Regions from separate parts of the Homo sapiens genome. Here all the other regions are linked to region 1. The links are contacts of gene promoters, found by promoter capture Hi-C in blood cells and fetal thymus (Javierre and others, 2016). All regions are on one chromosome and are shown on one strand. Each heading gives the region's core, a stretch centred on a gene start or on the middle of the fragment in contact. The rest is flanking DNA. Distances are from core to core; before and after follow the strand shown. Region 1 holds the start of LIAT1 (ligand of ATE1). Region 2 overlaps MRM3 (mitochondrial rRNA methyltransferase 3). Region 3 overlaps GLOD4 (glyoxalase domain containing 4). Region 4 overlaps TLCD3A (TLC domain containing 3A). Region 5 overlaps DOC2B (double C2 domain beta).

The links. Contacts are between HindIII fragments. The CHiCAGO score rates a contact against its expected background, and 5 or more counts as called.
Region 2: a contact is called between a fragment that was not itself captured here and the fragment with the promoter of LIAT1 in region 1, in 16 of 17 cell types (fetal thymus, activated CD4 T cells, total CD8 T cells and 13 more). The highest score is 11.2, in fetal thymus.
Region 3: a contact is called between a fragment that was not itself captured here and the fragment with the promoter of LIAT1 in region 1, in 1 of 17 cell types (M0 macrophages). The highest score is 6.1, in M0 macrophages.
Region 4: a contact is called between a fragment that was not itself captured here and the fragment with the promoter of LIAT1 in region 1, in 7 of 17 cell types (M0 macrophages, fetal thymus, monocytes and 4 more). The highest score is 6.7, in M0 macrophages.
Region 5: a fragment that was not itself captured here is called in contact with the fragment with the promoter of LIAT1 in region 1 in 3 of 17 cell types (M2 macrophages, M0 macrophages and endothelial precursors); the score reaches 7.9 in M2 macrophages.

Annotation. Positions count from the first base shown.
Region 1 is chr17:408,933-411,787 of GRCh38, reverse strand. LIAT1 (ligand of ATE1) reads right to left here and starts at 1,463. Exons shown (of 2, transcript NM_001013672.5): 1 at 1,142-1,463. The coding sequence starts at 1,445. The region is part of intron 2 of LOC105371430 (a long non-coding RNA gene); the gene reads left to right. RefSeq lists a silencer at 1,322-1,411. The HindIII fragment of the contact is 6,027 bases long and covers 1-2,855 here.
Region 2 is chr17:782,441-785,295 of GRCh38, reverse strand. It overlaps MRM3 (mitochondrial rRNA methyltransferase 3), which reads right to left. Exons shown (of 4, transcript NM_018146.4): 1 at 2,604-2,855; 2 at 1,969-2,213. It also overlaps a transcript of GLOD4 not described here. Among named protein-coding and RNA genes, the nearest start is that of MRM3, 1.5 kb to the right of the region's middle. RefSeq lists enhancers at 2,416-2,855, 2,636-2,855. The HindIII fragment of the contact is 2,507 bases long and covers 124-2,630 here.
Region 3 is chr17:759,231-762,085 of GRCh38, reverse strand. GLOD4 (glyoxalase domain containing 4) reads left to right here. Exons shown (of 9, transcript NM_016080.4): 9 at 1,848-2,756. The coding sequence ends at 1,913. Among named protein-coding and RNA genes, the nearest start is that of GEMIN4, 8.4 kb to the right of the region's middle. The HindIII fragment of the contact is 914 bases long and covers 991-1,904 here.
Region 4 is chr17:740,269-743,123 of GRCh38, reverse strand. TLCD3A (TLC domain containing 3A) reads right to left here. Exons shown (of 5, transcript NM_024792.3): 4 at 2,524-2,619; 5 at 156-1,823. The coding sequence ends at 1,554. Among named protein-coding and RNA genes, the nearest start is that of TLCD3A, 9.1 kb to the right of the region's middle. The HindIII fragment of the contact is 7,880 bases long and covers 1-2,855 here.
Region 5 is chr17:150,647-153,501 of GRCh38, reverse strand. The region is part of intron 6 of DOC2B (double C2 domain beta); the gene reads left to right. Among named protein-coding and RNA genes, the nearest start is that of SCGB1C2, 15 kb to the right of the region's middle. The HindIII fragment of the contact is 3,739 bases long and covers 1-2,855 here.

The sequences.
Region 1 (2,855 bases), core at 214-2,713:
TCAAAGTGGGTGCTCAGTCCCCTTGTCAAGAAATGTAGGGGTTCTACAAGAAGAGCTTGGTGAGATGTAGGGACTGGGGTTTATGGCAGGTAGGGTATGTGTGTTTGTGAAGGTGTCCCTGAGAGAGACTGCAATTCCTGCCTGCATATGACTACACACGCGAATGGATAACGTATTAACAGTCTGTGTGTGTAGACTAGGAATGTGTGTGCATGAGGGGGATCTGTGCTTTAGTTTTCTTGTTTGTTTTTTTGAGAGACAGGGTCTTGCTTGTTGCCCAGGCTGGAGTGCAATGGTGCGATCATAGCTCACTGCAGCCTGGAAGTCCTGGGTTCAAGTGATCCTCCCACCTCGGCCTCCCAAAGTGCTCGGATTACAGGTGTGAGCCACTGCGTCCCGCCCTTTAGTTTCACTGTTGGTGTTACATTGATAGAAGGTGGGGGGAGTGGTTGAGGGTGTCCCCCGCCCTTTAGTTTCACTGTGGGTGTTACACTGATATGAAGCGGGGAGTGGTTGAGGGTGTCAGGGATTATAGGAGGATGTCACAGTGACTGGTGTCATGGGGTTTGTGCAGTCCAAGGCTGCCCCTTGGTGGGTGCGAGGGGGAGCCCATGCAGCGAGGACCTTTAATACACACGTCTGTGGGTGTGGGTGTCTACCGCGCATCCACAGGCAGGCAGCCTTAACGCAAGAGGGTGGGAGGAGGGGAGGCAGGAGTCTGCCCTTCTCTGTGCATGAGAGTGAGGGCCTTTCATGTGGCATCAATGTGTTTGGGGTGGGGAAAGTGTCTTGTGAGGAGGGCCTCTGTGGGGAAGGCGCAGACGTTTAAGACTGCCAGTTTTGGCTGAGGGATTAGGAAGTTGAGAGGGTGTCTTTGTGTGGGGCTGGAAGGCTCTTAGGAATGGTGGATATCTGTAGGGGTCTCTGTGTGGGGCTAAGGGACCGCAGAGTTGGTGGATGGTCTCCACGGGTGGGGCTGGGGCATCAACGTGCTGCTGACGGGCATGTGTGGGGAGCAGGAGGACCTCGGTCCGGGACCACTGAGCTTCTGTTTCCGGTCTGAAGGGTAAATGGGGGGTGGGTCCCCAAAGAGTCTCCAGGGAACCGGAGCTGACGCAGCCGGGCTAGCTGCTCCTCTTACCGTCCCCCTTGCCAGACCCCTTGGTCTTCTTCTTCCTTTTTTTCTTCTTCACCTTCCGTTTGGCCAGCTCGGAGGCGCCGCCTGTGATGGGGGGCAGTCTAGACCCCCGCGGGCCCGCGGCGCCGCCCTCCCGCTCCTCCTCCTCGCCGTCGTTGTCCTTGTACCCCATTGTCCCCGCCCCACCGCGGCGGTCCAGCCGCCCGCTGGGCTGCAACCCAACCCGCCCCGGGGGCGCCCGAGGCCCGATGCCGACTAATCGGCGACTCTCAGCGCGGACCGCCAGGCCAGGGCCACGCGTCTCCATGGCGACCACCCCTGCTGCGCCTGCGCAGTCAGGACGCTTCCGCCCGGTGCCCCACGGACCGCGGTGTGCGCATGCGTGCTTCCGTCTTTTGGCGACCTTGGCACACAGCGGTGTGCGCATGTGTGCTTCTGTCGGGGATCTCGAGAACAGAGCGTTGTGCGCATGCGTACATCTGTCGGAGTGCTAGGTACGCAGCGGTGCGCGCATGCGTGCTTCCATCTGTTGGCGATACCGGCACAGCGATGTGCGCATGCGTGCTTCTGTCTGCGGAGACCTCCGCGCATAGAAGTGTGCGCATGCGTGCGTCTGTCGGAAACCTCCGCACACAGAGGTGTGCGCATGCGTGCTTCTGTCGGGGACCGCGGCGCACGGTGGTTCGCCCATGCTTGCTTTTGTCTGTTGGAATCTGGACAGTTGACCGCAGGAAGGGGAGGGTGGGCAGAGAGATTTTAAATCCCTGGGCTGACACTCATCTCGTCCAGTCCCGTGCCTCGATCCTCCTGCCTTGGCCTCCCATCCCCACGCCTGGCTAAGAGTTTTGATTTTTGGTTTCAGGCTGGTCTCGAACTCCTGGGCTCCATCGATCTTCCCGCCTCGGCCTCCTAGATCGCTGGGATCACAGGCATGAGCCTCCGTGCTCGGCCTCCTGTACCTTTTTAAATGCTGTGTATTCTCCCCTCAATTTTTATTGCCTGAGTTTCAGCCTCGTACATCTACCCTGGACTCTCAAAGCCAATGTGTCCAAAACAAACTTACTTCTTCATGGTTTTCCACTTTAGTGAACAAAACCGCTGGACTGGCTGGAAACCTGGTGGGCTTCCGTGTCCCCTACCCTCTCCCTTGTCCCTTACCCAGGCTGGGGCCGACTGCCGTGTCTGGCACTGGGACTTCTGGGTCCTCTCCTGAATGGTCTCTGCTTTCAAACCTTCCCCACGAACTCTTTTTCCGCACAGCTGCTAGAACAAACTTTTAAAAACAACCAAACCGTTCACTCTCTTGCTAAAAGTCTCCAGTGATGAAAAACAAAACATAAAAAGCCAAAAAGTCCTCCATTGCTTCCTCATCACAATTTACATCAAGATCTAAACTCTTGTGGGGCTCTGTGCAGGGCTGACACCCGTAGTCCCAACACTTTGGGAGGTCAAGGTGGGTGGATCGCTTGAGCCCATTCTGGGCAACGTAGTGAGACCCCATCTCTACAAAAAATTAACCAGCTGCGCTGAGGGGCACTTGTGGAGGAACTTGAGCCTGCAGTGAGCCGAGATCGCACCACTGCTGTCCAGCCTGGGTAACAAAGCAAGACTTTCTCTCTCTTTTTTTTTTTTTGGGAGACAGAGCCTTCCTCTGTTGCCCAGGCTGGAATGCAGTGGCGTGAACGTGACTCACTGCAACCTCTGCCTCTCAGGTTCA
Region 2 (2,855 bases), core at 128-2,627, 370 kb before region 1:
AGTACATGAAATTGCTGTGGTATAGATGAAGTTATTCACATGGGTGTATCACATATCCACAAGTTTCTTTTTGAATCACCATGTTTACTGGTAGAGGTGATAATGATAACCTTTTAGTAAGCTTTTTTTTTTAAGCCAAGCACTACCCTAAACTCTTTATGTATAATTATCAAATATTCAATCCCTTTGTAGTCTGCTCCCAAGGGACTGTACAGTTTTTTTGAATCTTACTAGTATTTTGTCGTATATGATTGCTACAATAAATGGGCTACTGACTGAAGTCAGGAGATGAATGAAATAGTACTTGTACTGAAACATGATACAATCAAAGATTTAGGATTCTTTCTAAAAGATGGTGCAGGTAAAAAGCCTATCCACCACTGAAGGCAATGGAAGGGTATTAGGCGTCTGTGTGCTGTGAGAGAGCCTCCACTTCGGAGTCACAGATGGCCAAAAGCCATTCAGTAGGGCTGAGGACCTTAGAAGTCCTTTACTTCTACTTGGATGTCTGTGGTGATGAGAACCCACTATACGGAGGCCCTACTTATGTCGCTGGATTCTGGGGAGTGTCTGTCTAAAGCCTGACAGGTGCTGCCAGTTCCTATCCATTTCTCCCTTATTCCCTGCCCTCAAATCTAAAATATAGTAACATAAGGATAAGCCAGGAAATGATGAAAGCAGGTATGATGATGAAGTTCAAGATGGGTTGGCCACTGTAAGCACACCTGCCCCAAGTGACAAGCACAAGTTCAAGATGGGCTGGCCACTGTGAGCACACCTGCCCCAAGTGACAAGCACAAGTTCAAGATGGGCTGGCCACTGTGAGCACACCTGCCCCAAGTGACAAGCACGGTAAAAATGAATAACACTTTCACTGAAGCATGGCGTGTGGATTAGAGGGCTGTAGCTAGTGAGAATATGGTTACTTAGCATGAGTAATTCTAGGTACTTTAGTAATCCAAGTCCCCATCCTAGGATCTAAGAGCTCTGAGTGCAGAGGCACAGATCCCTGTGACTCACTGGGTTACAGAGACAAGAGATGGTTCCCCAGAATCTCCTCTCTCAGCAGTTCAAGGATTCAGTTTTCATATCTTAAAACTCCCATGTCAAAAACGTATGAAAAACTTATCTTCTCATATTTAGACCAAAGACTTTGTAACTGCTAATCAACATCGGAGTTACATAAGGTTAAGTCAGATTCAGCCAAATGAAGGAACAGACTAGAAGACAAGGTTCTCTGTTTATTGGGCTAAACGGGGCAGTAAATTGTGGCTTGTACCTCGCTTCTTAGATCTGCTTCTGGAATAAGCAGTTTATTGACAGTTATCACCACATTGGCAGAGGTTTTGCAAAAATGAAGGGCTCAATCTTTCAGTAAACGCTTTCTTAATTTTTAATCTGACATAGAAAGTTGAAGAAGTAATCTAAAAAATAGAAGGTTTGAGGAATAGTGGTTCTTCCTAGAGACCATAAAGAGCCACAACACAAATGATAGTGAAAAACGGGTTTCAATTTCCATTGAAAATACTCTAAGATACACAGGTTTGAGAATTATATTTTTCTAATTGTAACATTTTGAATTTCATTTCAATGCTGCTGTCCTAAGACAAGTATGAGAAATTAATCCTAGGTCTCCACACCTTAAGATACACTGTGTAAGGCCAGGCATGGTGGCTCACGCCTGTAATCCCAGCACTTTGGGAGGCCGAGGCAGGAGGATCACCTGAGGTCACAAGTTCGACGTCAGCCTGGCCAACATGGTGAAACCCCACCTCTACTAAAAATACAAAAATCACCCGGGCATGGTGGCAGACGCCTGTAATCCCAGCTACTGCGGAGGCTGAGGCAAGAGAATCCCTTGAACCCGAGAGGCGGAGGTTGCAGTGGGCCGAGATCGCGCCATTGCACTCCAGCCTGGGTGACAGAACAAGACAAAAAAAAAAAAAGATACACTGGGTAATCACTAACCCATTATTCCTTGTGGCGTTACGAGGTCGGACCAATCCTTGATATCCTCAAATTTCACCTTAATGAGGCTGACACCTTTCAGCTTATCGACTGGCAACTCCTTTAGGTATTCTAGACGGCTAAAGAAGAACATTTTTGGCACAGCTCCAGCCTTGAGAGCGTCTGAAATGAGCCTGCGACCTTCCAGCAGGATCTTCCCTTGTTTTTCCCGAAATGGCCTGGACTTTACTATTGTCATTACACTGCTGTAGATGGAAATAAAAAAAAAAAACAGGTAACTATCAACATCCTTGTTACTGAGACACGCTTAGTTGTAACAGAAATAAAGAGCTACGGAGAGGGCCGGGCGCGGTGGCTCACGCCTGTAATCCCAGCACATTGGGAGGCCGAGGCGGGCGGATCACCTGAGGTCAGGAGTTCCAGATCAGCCTGGCTAACATGGTGAAACAAAAACAACAACAAAGAGCTAAGGAGAAACAGAAGCTAATTCCAAAGACGCTTATTCGGCCCTCTGTGCATAATACAAAAACCAGCGGGCTGTACTGGAAGAAGTCCTCCATCGGAAGGAGGTTAAGGTTCCGCTGTGCGACGGGAAGGGAAACGAGAACATTCGACAGGCTCAAGAACCACATCACCTCAGCCTCCTGTCCCCGGGATAAGCTTTATCGTAGCGAAGCCCAGACTCTTCCCAGGTGCTGGGAGCGCGGGATGCGGACTCCTCGAGCGGTTGTTTCTCTCGTTGCTCCTGGGCACTGGCCTCAGATGGTGCCTTGCGGGGCTGCTTCCCAGGAGCGCGCTTCTGTTCCACCACCTCTCCGGAAGGAAACACCACTTTCACTGGGCTCCGCCGCAGCGCCCGGACCCAGCGCCTCGCGTCAAGGTCCCAA
Region 3 (2,855 bases), core at 198-2,697, 350 kb before region 1:
AAGCAAACAGCCAGTAATTTTTAAAACCGTTTAATCCGATAGCTCTCTCTTGCCTCTGAGATAAATTTCAAACTCTCTGACAGAGCATGTGACATTTTTGGACATTCTCTACCCTCTGACCTTCTTTCCCACCTGCCTCCCTAAGTCCCCTAACTCATCCCTATTCCAGTCCCACTGAACTGGTTATATTAGCTAAGATACTTCTTCTTGCATCCAACCCAAAGGGTTTTTTCCCTCTCCTCTTTTACTTGTCCTTCAACACTTAAAAGCTTTCTTAGGTTCAGCCGGGCGCGATGGCTCACCCCTGTAATCCCAGCACCTTGGGGGACCAAGGCGGGTGGCTCACCTGAGGTCAGGAGTCCCAGACCAGCCTGACCAACATGGTGAAACCCTGTCTCTACTAAACACAAAAAATTAGCCAGGCACGGTGGTGTACGCCTGTAATCCCAGCTACTTGGGAGGCTGAGGCAGGAGAATCACTTGAACCCAGAAGGCAGAGGTTGCAGTGAGCCGAGATGGCGCCGTTGCACTCCAGCCTGGGCGACAAGAGCAAAACTCCATTTCAAAAAAGAAAAAAAGCTTTCTTAGGTTCTCCAAATAATTTAGTTGTTCTTTCCTCCCACTTTTTATGGCTCCTAAAAGACAGAAACGTGCATATTTGTGACTTGTGGTTTTTTTAAGCATATCTTTGATTTTTAAATTCTTATTTTCATCAAGATAATAAATCAGATAGTACTAAGATTTTTTAGAAATGAAACGGTCCAACTCTGAGTCACACTACCTAGGACAGCCACTTTCACCTTCACTGTTTCTAAATAATAAATATATTTGTTTCTTCTTTTTCAATTGCCACCTCATCTTGTGACTTCCTGCTGAGGTAGATATTATAGCAAATGCTTCAAGACACACACATGCGTACACACACTCTGTCATGCAAAATACTTGTTTCCATATCTGAGTTCTCAGCTGTTCTGCACACTCCTCAAAGCTTCCGACTGTCTCTGCTGCCACATCTGAACCCAGCGTGGTACCTGGCTCTTTTTGACTACATAAATGAGTGTTTGTCCTTACTAAACAACGAAAGGGATGCTTGTGGAACCAAAACATTATTGTTAAGGCTTTGTATTATTCATTTATTTTTATTTGTATCTGTATGTATGTATATGAGACGGGGTCCCACTCTGTTACACAGGCTGAACTCGAATTCCTGAGCTCACGTGATCCTCTGGCCTCAGCCTCCAAGTGGCTGTGACTATAGGTGTGACCACTGGGCACGGCTTAAGGCTTCCTTTTTAATTAAGATGCCCAAACTAAACAGAACCAACATCAGAAGAGTAGGCCGGGAGGAGACTTACGAAAAAGGAATCATTCCAGGCTTCATCACTAAAACATCACGTAGAGTTTCATATTTGGCCTCACTATCAGACTGAGTTTCATGACACTAAAGATTCTTGAGCGTCTGCCCAGATGCTGTGAGTGGCAGGACTTGCTCTTTTACCAGAGATCCTACCGCCTGGCATGCGGGTCCCTGACCTCGTTGGTCCGCCAGCCACACTTCCTGGCTACAGGCTTGGTTTGCCCTTGACTCTGCCGAGTGAGGATCCACAGTTGCTCATTATCACCAGTATCTCTTGCCTTATTGAACATAACACTCTGTACTGGATTAATACTCTTTAAATGTTAAAAAATTTTTTTTATTTCTCTTCTCTTTTTTTTGGAGCGGGGGTTTGGGTCCTTTTTTTAATGTTAATTTTTTTTATTGTGGTCAGTACAGTGAGATATAAAGTGGGCTATGTCTTTTGTTTTTCAGGCTTGGAGTCAGTGTATATTCTATTTCTATTTTACAGGCAATGGCAGCAGATAAAAGTGACGAGTGGTTTGCCAAACACAATAAACCCAAAGCTTCAGGTTAACGGAAGACATGATGCAGAGCAAGCCTCTGTGATTCCTGCCCAGCACCTGTGAGGCCTGACGTGTCAGTTCCCAATAAATGCTCTTCTGATTTGTTTCCCGTACAGGCAAGGAGGCTTGGGTAGTGCAGATTTGTGTATTTCAATCTTTGAAAGCTCTGATGTAATTTAGAAATGAAATCCAATCATGAGTCCAGGTAGAGAACGCCTGCTGTAATCTACACTGTTGCTGGGACTGCGCATTCTGTATATAACTGTGTTGGATGAGTGACAGATGATTGTCCAGACTAGGACAGCGGCATGAACATGACTTTGGTTGGGATTGCGGATAGTTAGGGTTACCTCTGAATCGTGTAGCTTTTATGAGAGCAGCTGTGCAAGTGAATCCACATTAATGCCTTGTCGTGGTGCCATTCCCAGCGCCTGACGATACGCTCTTCTATTGTCTTATTCTGGCAGGTTTTGACGTTTTAAATTTTTTAAAGAAATTTTATTCCTTGGACCAAAAGGTTTGGTTAACCACCCCCCTCTTACTTGCTTTCACATTTTGAGTGTCCAGAGGAAACAGAAAGGAATGAGTGTGTGACGTTGCTGCACGCCTGACTCTGTGCGAGCTTCTTTCTGTGTATATATTTTGTTTTATTTTTTTCCGTGTATATTTTTAATCCCGACAGAACATCATGTGAGATTTCTTTAAAATGGATTAAACGATTTCTTCAGCCTGAAAAAAAAGGTTTTGAAAATGTTTTCTTGTAGTTTTGTTTGGTTCTAAACAACAAATAGGTTTTAATCACTCGAAATGGAATTATATTGTGTATTCATTGAATAAATTTTTTTTGAAAGTAAGCTTCTGAAATCAAGCTGTGATACCAGTCTCTAAGTCTCATCATGTAAAGTGGTGGCCAGGTTCAGATTTTTAAAAATAAACTTAGGAGATTGGAAGGG
Region 4 (2,855 bases), core at 159-2,658, 330 kb before region 1:
ACCTTTCTGGAGGCTGAAAGCATTCACACACACACCCCTCTGCTAGTTACATGGACACAGACCTTGAGCCACAGCACACGGCAGCCAGTCGAGCTAGGTCACAGGATGATTCTTACAGGACACTGATATTGATGTATTTCACAAATGAGAATAAGTTGGGAATGTTAGTGCAATTTAATCACCGTAAGGGTGACTTTTAAAGATACACTGATAGTTAAAAAAAAAAGACAATTAAAAAATAGCATTTTGTTTTTTAAATGGCACCCATTAAAGACTCAACAGTCAAAATGAGACAAATCAGTCCTTTAGACGTTCACAGACAATTGAAAGGCACTTTAAAAATCCACTTTTTAAACTACCACTTGAGAACACATGGTAGCACAGTCTTAAATTCATCCTAGTTGATCGGGAATGATGAATGAGTGTTGGCACCAGAAAATCCTGCTTGCAGAAGGGGGCGCAGGTGTCGGTCCACGGGACAGCCACTGGCCAGGCTAGCTGCCGCCTCACTCCGCAGCCTTCTGTGGCTAAATGGCAGGACGGACACACAGGAATGGGCTTTGGACCACAAGCTCTGGCATATCGGGAGGCAAAGCACTCAAGTACTCTGCAGTCTAGATGACACATTTCATGGTTTGGAGGACAGAAGTAGGTTTCCACATCACATGAAAAGGACAGTGTCACAGTGGGGTTACCCAGTAAACAGCTACCAAAGCCATCATTTCACGCTTCCCTGTAGTTTTATGAGCTCGCCCTCTGCATGTGGATATGGGGAAAGCCGGGCATGAAGGGGTGTGTGAAAAAGAACAGCCTCTGTGACTGACTGCAGTAAGCTCACAAGTTTGTCACTGTCAGACTTAGCAAGTCAGCCTGCAAAGGTTGTGCTGATCTCTTGGCCACACTACCTACTCAGGTTCCCATCCATGCCTCCTGCCTGCCCCCACCCCCAGCCCCACCAGTGAGACTTCTGATTGGAAGTCTATAGACATAAGAATTCAACTCTGACCCATGGATGAGAGGATGAGGCAAAGAACCAATGGGTTATCTAGTAAACGATCAATAACTACCTACCCACAATGATTGTCCCAGGCCAATGTCACAAGACGACATTACTTCCAAGAACCAAGTCATCCCTTGCTTCTGCGGGCCCAGTGCCACGGGTACTGTCCTGAGTGGTTTGGAAGGTGGGTAGCCGCTGATACAGGGACAGGCAGATGTGCAGACACTTACCACCCTGGTCCACCGATCCCACCCCATGCTTCCACCTCCCAGAGCTCTTGAGATAAGACCTTAAGAAGGATCCTTGGGCTTGCATTAAAACCACTTTGCTGTCCGTGGAGGTCTGACAGGACCCAATAGTTGTTACTACAAAAGTGCTTTTGCAAATAGGGCAAGTTAGAAGAAGGAGGTAATATGAATATTCTTTAGAAAAACTCAAATCCATCGGCTTATCAATACCCAAAGTCTGAGGCTACCCAGGGCACAATTTGGTCCATGGAATGCTGAGTGGAGGAGGCAGCTGGTGTGAGGCTGCGCCTGACTCCCAGGAGCATTTAGCCATCCTTTTTGGCTTGGGGAGTGTCAAAGAGCCGGACTGCCTTCCTGCACAGCAGACAGAACCAGTAGATCTGAGGAGCTACGAGGAAGGCATTGGCCACGTTGCAGTAGAATGGGATGCTGAAGGGTACTTGGAGCAGGCTTAGTCCCTGCTGGCGGCCATAGGACCAGTACATGAAGGGGAAGAGAAGGATCCGGCAGGAAAGGAAGGTGGCCAGCGTGAGGATTCCATTCACCTTGTACAGAAGGGTGTGCTGCTGCTTTAGCTGCAATAGAAGAGGAAGGAAAAAGGTAAGGTCACCAAGAAGCTGGGCATCAGGGAGCGACGGGCCCAAGTCCCACCACAGTAAATGCCACACAGGTGCAGGTGCTCATCAAGACCTTGGCTGTCAGATTCCCTGGCGCCCAGACGTTTGTCTAGTTTTCTAACACTTGGAGAAGACATTCTTGAACACTATCATATTGAGATGTGCAAATAACCTCATTTTCTCCAATAGTGATTTTGAATTTGACCCAGGCCACCCAGCTGACAGGAGTACAGGAACCGTGGATTAAAGTATGTGTGTAACCAGGGAAAAAATAGAATGAGCTGTATCAAACTATCAAACTTAGATCAAACCTACAATTTCACCCCCACTGGCTGAGATGACCAGCTGACCTTTAAGGCTGTTGAAGGATCTCTCATCCCACTCTCCTGGCACTAGGGATTTCTCCACACCCACCATCTCCGAAGGAAAAGCAGAATCCACTCCCTCCCACACTCTTTCTGCCATTTCATTCATGCATGCCTGAATCAGAACCCTCACTCTCTCTGCCATTCATTCATACATGCCTGAATCAGAACCTTCACTCTCTCTGCCATTCATTCATACATGCCTGAATCAGAACCCTCACTCTCTCTGTCATTTCATTCATACATGCCTGAATCAGAACCCTCACACTCTCTGTCATTTCATTCATACATGCCTGAATCAGAACCCTGCCCAGCGACACAAACGGAGTGCTCAGTTCTGCCGTGAAGATGCAGCCGACAAAGAAGTCCCCAAGGTCTCCCCGGAGCCTCTGCGGATGACGAAACGAAAAGGGGAAGTAAGTGGAGGTTAAGAAACCACCAGAAGGAAAATTCCAACGAGGGCTACTGAAAAGGGTAACTGTGACGGGCAAAGGACGCTCAATAGGCAAGCGCAGACTACTGTACCGCTGCTTCCGTGGCAACAGCACTTTGATGGTCCAAGCCCTAGGATCCAGAGGCAAATTCAGACAGGATGACGGCGTCCCACACCAAGCTCTGAATTTTG
Region 5 (2,855 bases), core at 175-2,674, 260 kb after region 1:
TGAACTCCTGACCTCAAGTGATCCACCCACCCTGGCCTCCCAAAGGGCTGGGATTACAGGCGTGAGCCACTGTGCCCGGCCTATGGTGTGACATTTTTAAACCAGTTTCAATGCCCACCTGCCAGATGGACAGGAATTCCAGGGTCACCTGCTGGGTTGCCCAGAAAGCAGAGTCTTACCTGCTGTGACAGATGGTCTGGTCAACTTCCACAGGCAGGCGGGGGGCCATCTGGGCAGGGCCTGTCCACTGTACCACAAGCTCCTCCCTGCCACAGGTGGCTGCTGTGGGTGCTGCTGGACCCCTGCAGCTGGGTCCCACCTGCCAGCCGTGGGCCAGGTCACGTGGCCTTTCAAAGACAGGCCGAGCTGTGGGCCACTCCCTGTATCTGAGCCACGCCTCACCCGAGACCTCCACATCTGTTTCAGACACCCTGGGTGAGACACGACGGCTGCTGCTCGGGGCTCCTCAGGGGTCCCCGTCTCTGAAAGGCCCCTTCATGGACCAGGGGCCTCTTCCTCACTAAAGCAGAGGAAATAAGGGCACAGATTAGATGGTAAGAGGGGCACCCCTCAGCTGCATCCTAGACCTGGAAGAGAGTGTGACCTGTGCCCCAGAAGAAAGGGAGGGACGTATCTAGCGGTTGATGCTGAGGGCCAAAGCTAGATGGGTCAAGGCCTTTTGTCTGCACTATTATTTTTATTTGTTTTCTTTATTTCTTCCTTTCTTTTTTGAGACAGTGACTCACTCTGTCACCGGGCTGGAATGCAGTGATGCGATCACAGCTCACAGCAGCCTCAAACTCCTGGGCTCAAGCAGTCCTTCCCCCTCAGCCTCCTGAGTAGCTGGGACTACAGGTGTGCACCACCACGCCTGGCTAGTTGTTTTTTGTATTTTTTGTAGAGACTGGGTTTTGCCGTATTGGCCAGGCTGGTCTCAAACTGCTGGACTCAAACGATCCTCCTAGCTCGGCCTCCCAAAGTGCTGGGATTACAGGTGCAAGCCACCATGCCCAGCTAGCACCATTATTTTTATAAAGCTCATCTCTGGTGATACTTGCCCCAGTTTCCCCAGGCCGGAAGTTGACCCCAGGCCCAGCTCTTGAGGGTTTGATGGAAAACCCCAGGAGTAGCAGTGCCTGTGACAATCGCTGACATGTCGAGTTACACGTAATATCCCTGAGCTGCGCGATGGCTGCGTGTGACGCGCTCAGCAGCCTGTGCGGTCGCTCCTGTTGTTATCTCCATTTCATGCCCGTGAAAATGGCAGTAACTGGCAGCAACGTGCTGTGCCACCCTGGGCAACTCCCTTCTCTGGCTGTCTTATGTATAACCAGAAGGGGTTTCTTCTCAAAGCCACAGGCAAGCAGAAGGCACTGTGCAGAGGGCTCAGAGGTACACGGCACAGGGCGGCTCCGTGAGCCCCGGTGGCCAGGACCACTGTCCTGACAGCAAGGGAGGGAGAGACGCCACAGGGCGGGCCTCAGGGGCTTTGCAGGGTGGGCTTGTGCCAGAGTAGGGTATGCTCAGGGAGGGTGCTGAGGGATTTCCCCAGAGTGGTCAGGTGAGGAGGGAAGGGCACTTCTGGTAGAGAAAACAGCAGAACAGAGGGCAACGCTGGCGGAACTGTCCATGGCTGAAGGTGCCGAGGCTGGAGCCTGTCGTGGAAGTCTGGTGGCTGAGTGAGGGGTCACCAGATGGGCACAAGTTGTCCAGGCTGAGGGTGCAGAGATCCCAAAACAACTTTCCTTCCAGGGGCTTGTGAAGGCAGGGCACGCAGGACCCTTCTGTCCCTGCTCCTCACCCGTCACCAAACAGGCCAAGGACAGTTCACAGCAGACACAATATACCAATACCTAGAGAAATGGCCAAGGAGCATAGTAAGTAACTAAGGAAATCCGCTGTCTCCGGGTGGCGGGCTTAGGGGAATCCCCCCAAACTTTTTTAAAATCAGGTTTATTGAGGTACAGGTTGAGCGTCCCAAAGCTGTAAATCCAAAACCCCAAACATTCCAAGCACCGACATGACGCTCAAAGGGAATGCTTATTGGCGCGTTTGGGATTTCAGATTTTTGAATTTTTGAGTTAGGGATGCTGAACTGGTAAATATACTGCAAAGATTACAAAATATGAAAAAATCCAAAATTCAAAACATCTGGTCCAAGCATTTCAGATAATGGATCCTCAACCTGTATCATTCATATCCAGTGAGTTTTTCTTTTCTTTTCTTTTTTTAGAGACAGGGTTTTGCTCTGTTGTCCAGGCCAAAGTGCAGTGGCGCAATCATAGCTCATTGCAGCCTTGAACTCCTGGGCTCAAGCATCTTCCCACCTCAGCACTGTGAATAGCTGGGACTACAGGCATGCACCACCATGCCCAGCTAATTTTTAATTTTTTGGTAGAGATGGGGTCTCGCTGTATCACCCAGGCTGGGACAGTCTTGTTTCCACCACCAGAATCAACACAGAGAATATGACCCCAGAAAGTTCCCTGGCCCCAGGCAACCACTCACCTGTTTTCTGTCTCAATGGTGTTGCCGTTTCCAGACTTTCCCATGAAACAGTCAGATAGTGTGTTGCCCTGTGAGTCCGGCTTCTTTCACACGGAGGAATGCGTTTGAGATTCATCTGTCAGTTGCATGTACCAGGAGTTTGGTCCTTTTTGTTGCTAAGTGGTCTTCCATTGTGTGGGTAAACCACAAGTTTGTTGTTGATGAGTTCCCCAGTTGAAGGGCGTGTGGTTGTTTGCAATTTTTGGTGATGGTAGAAAGCTGCAATGAACAGGTTTTTGTGTGGACATATGTCTTCATTTCTCTCTCCTAATCCCAACTTTTGTCCACATGCATTTTCTAGTGCTTCT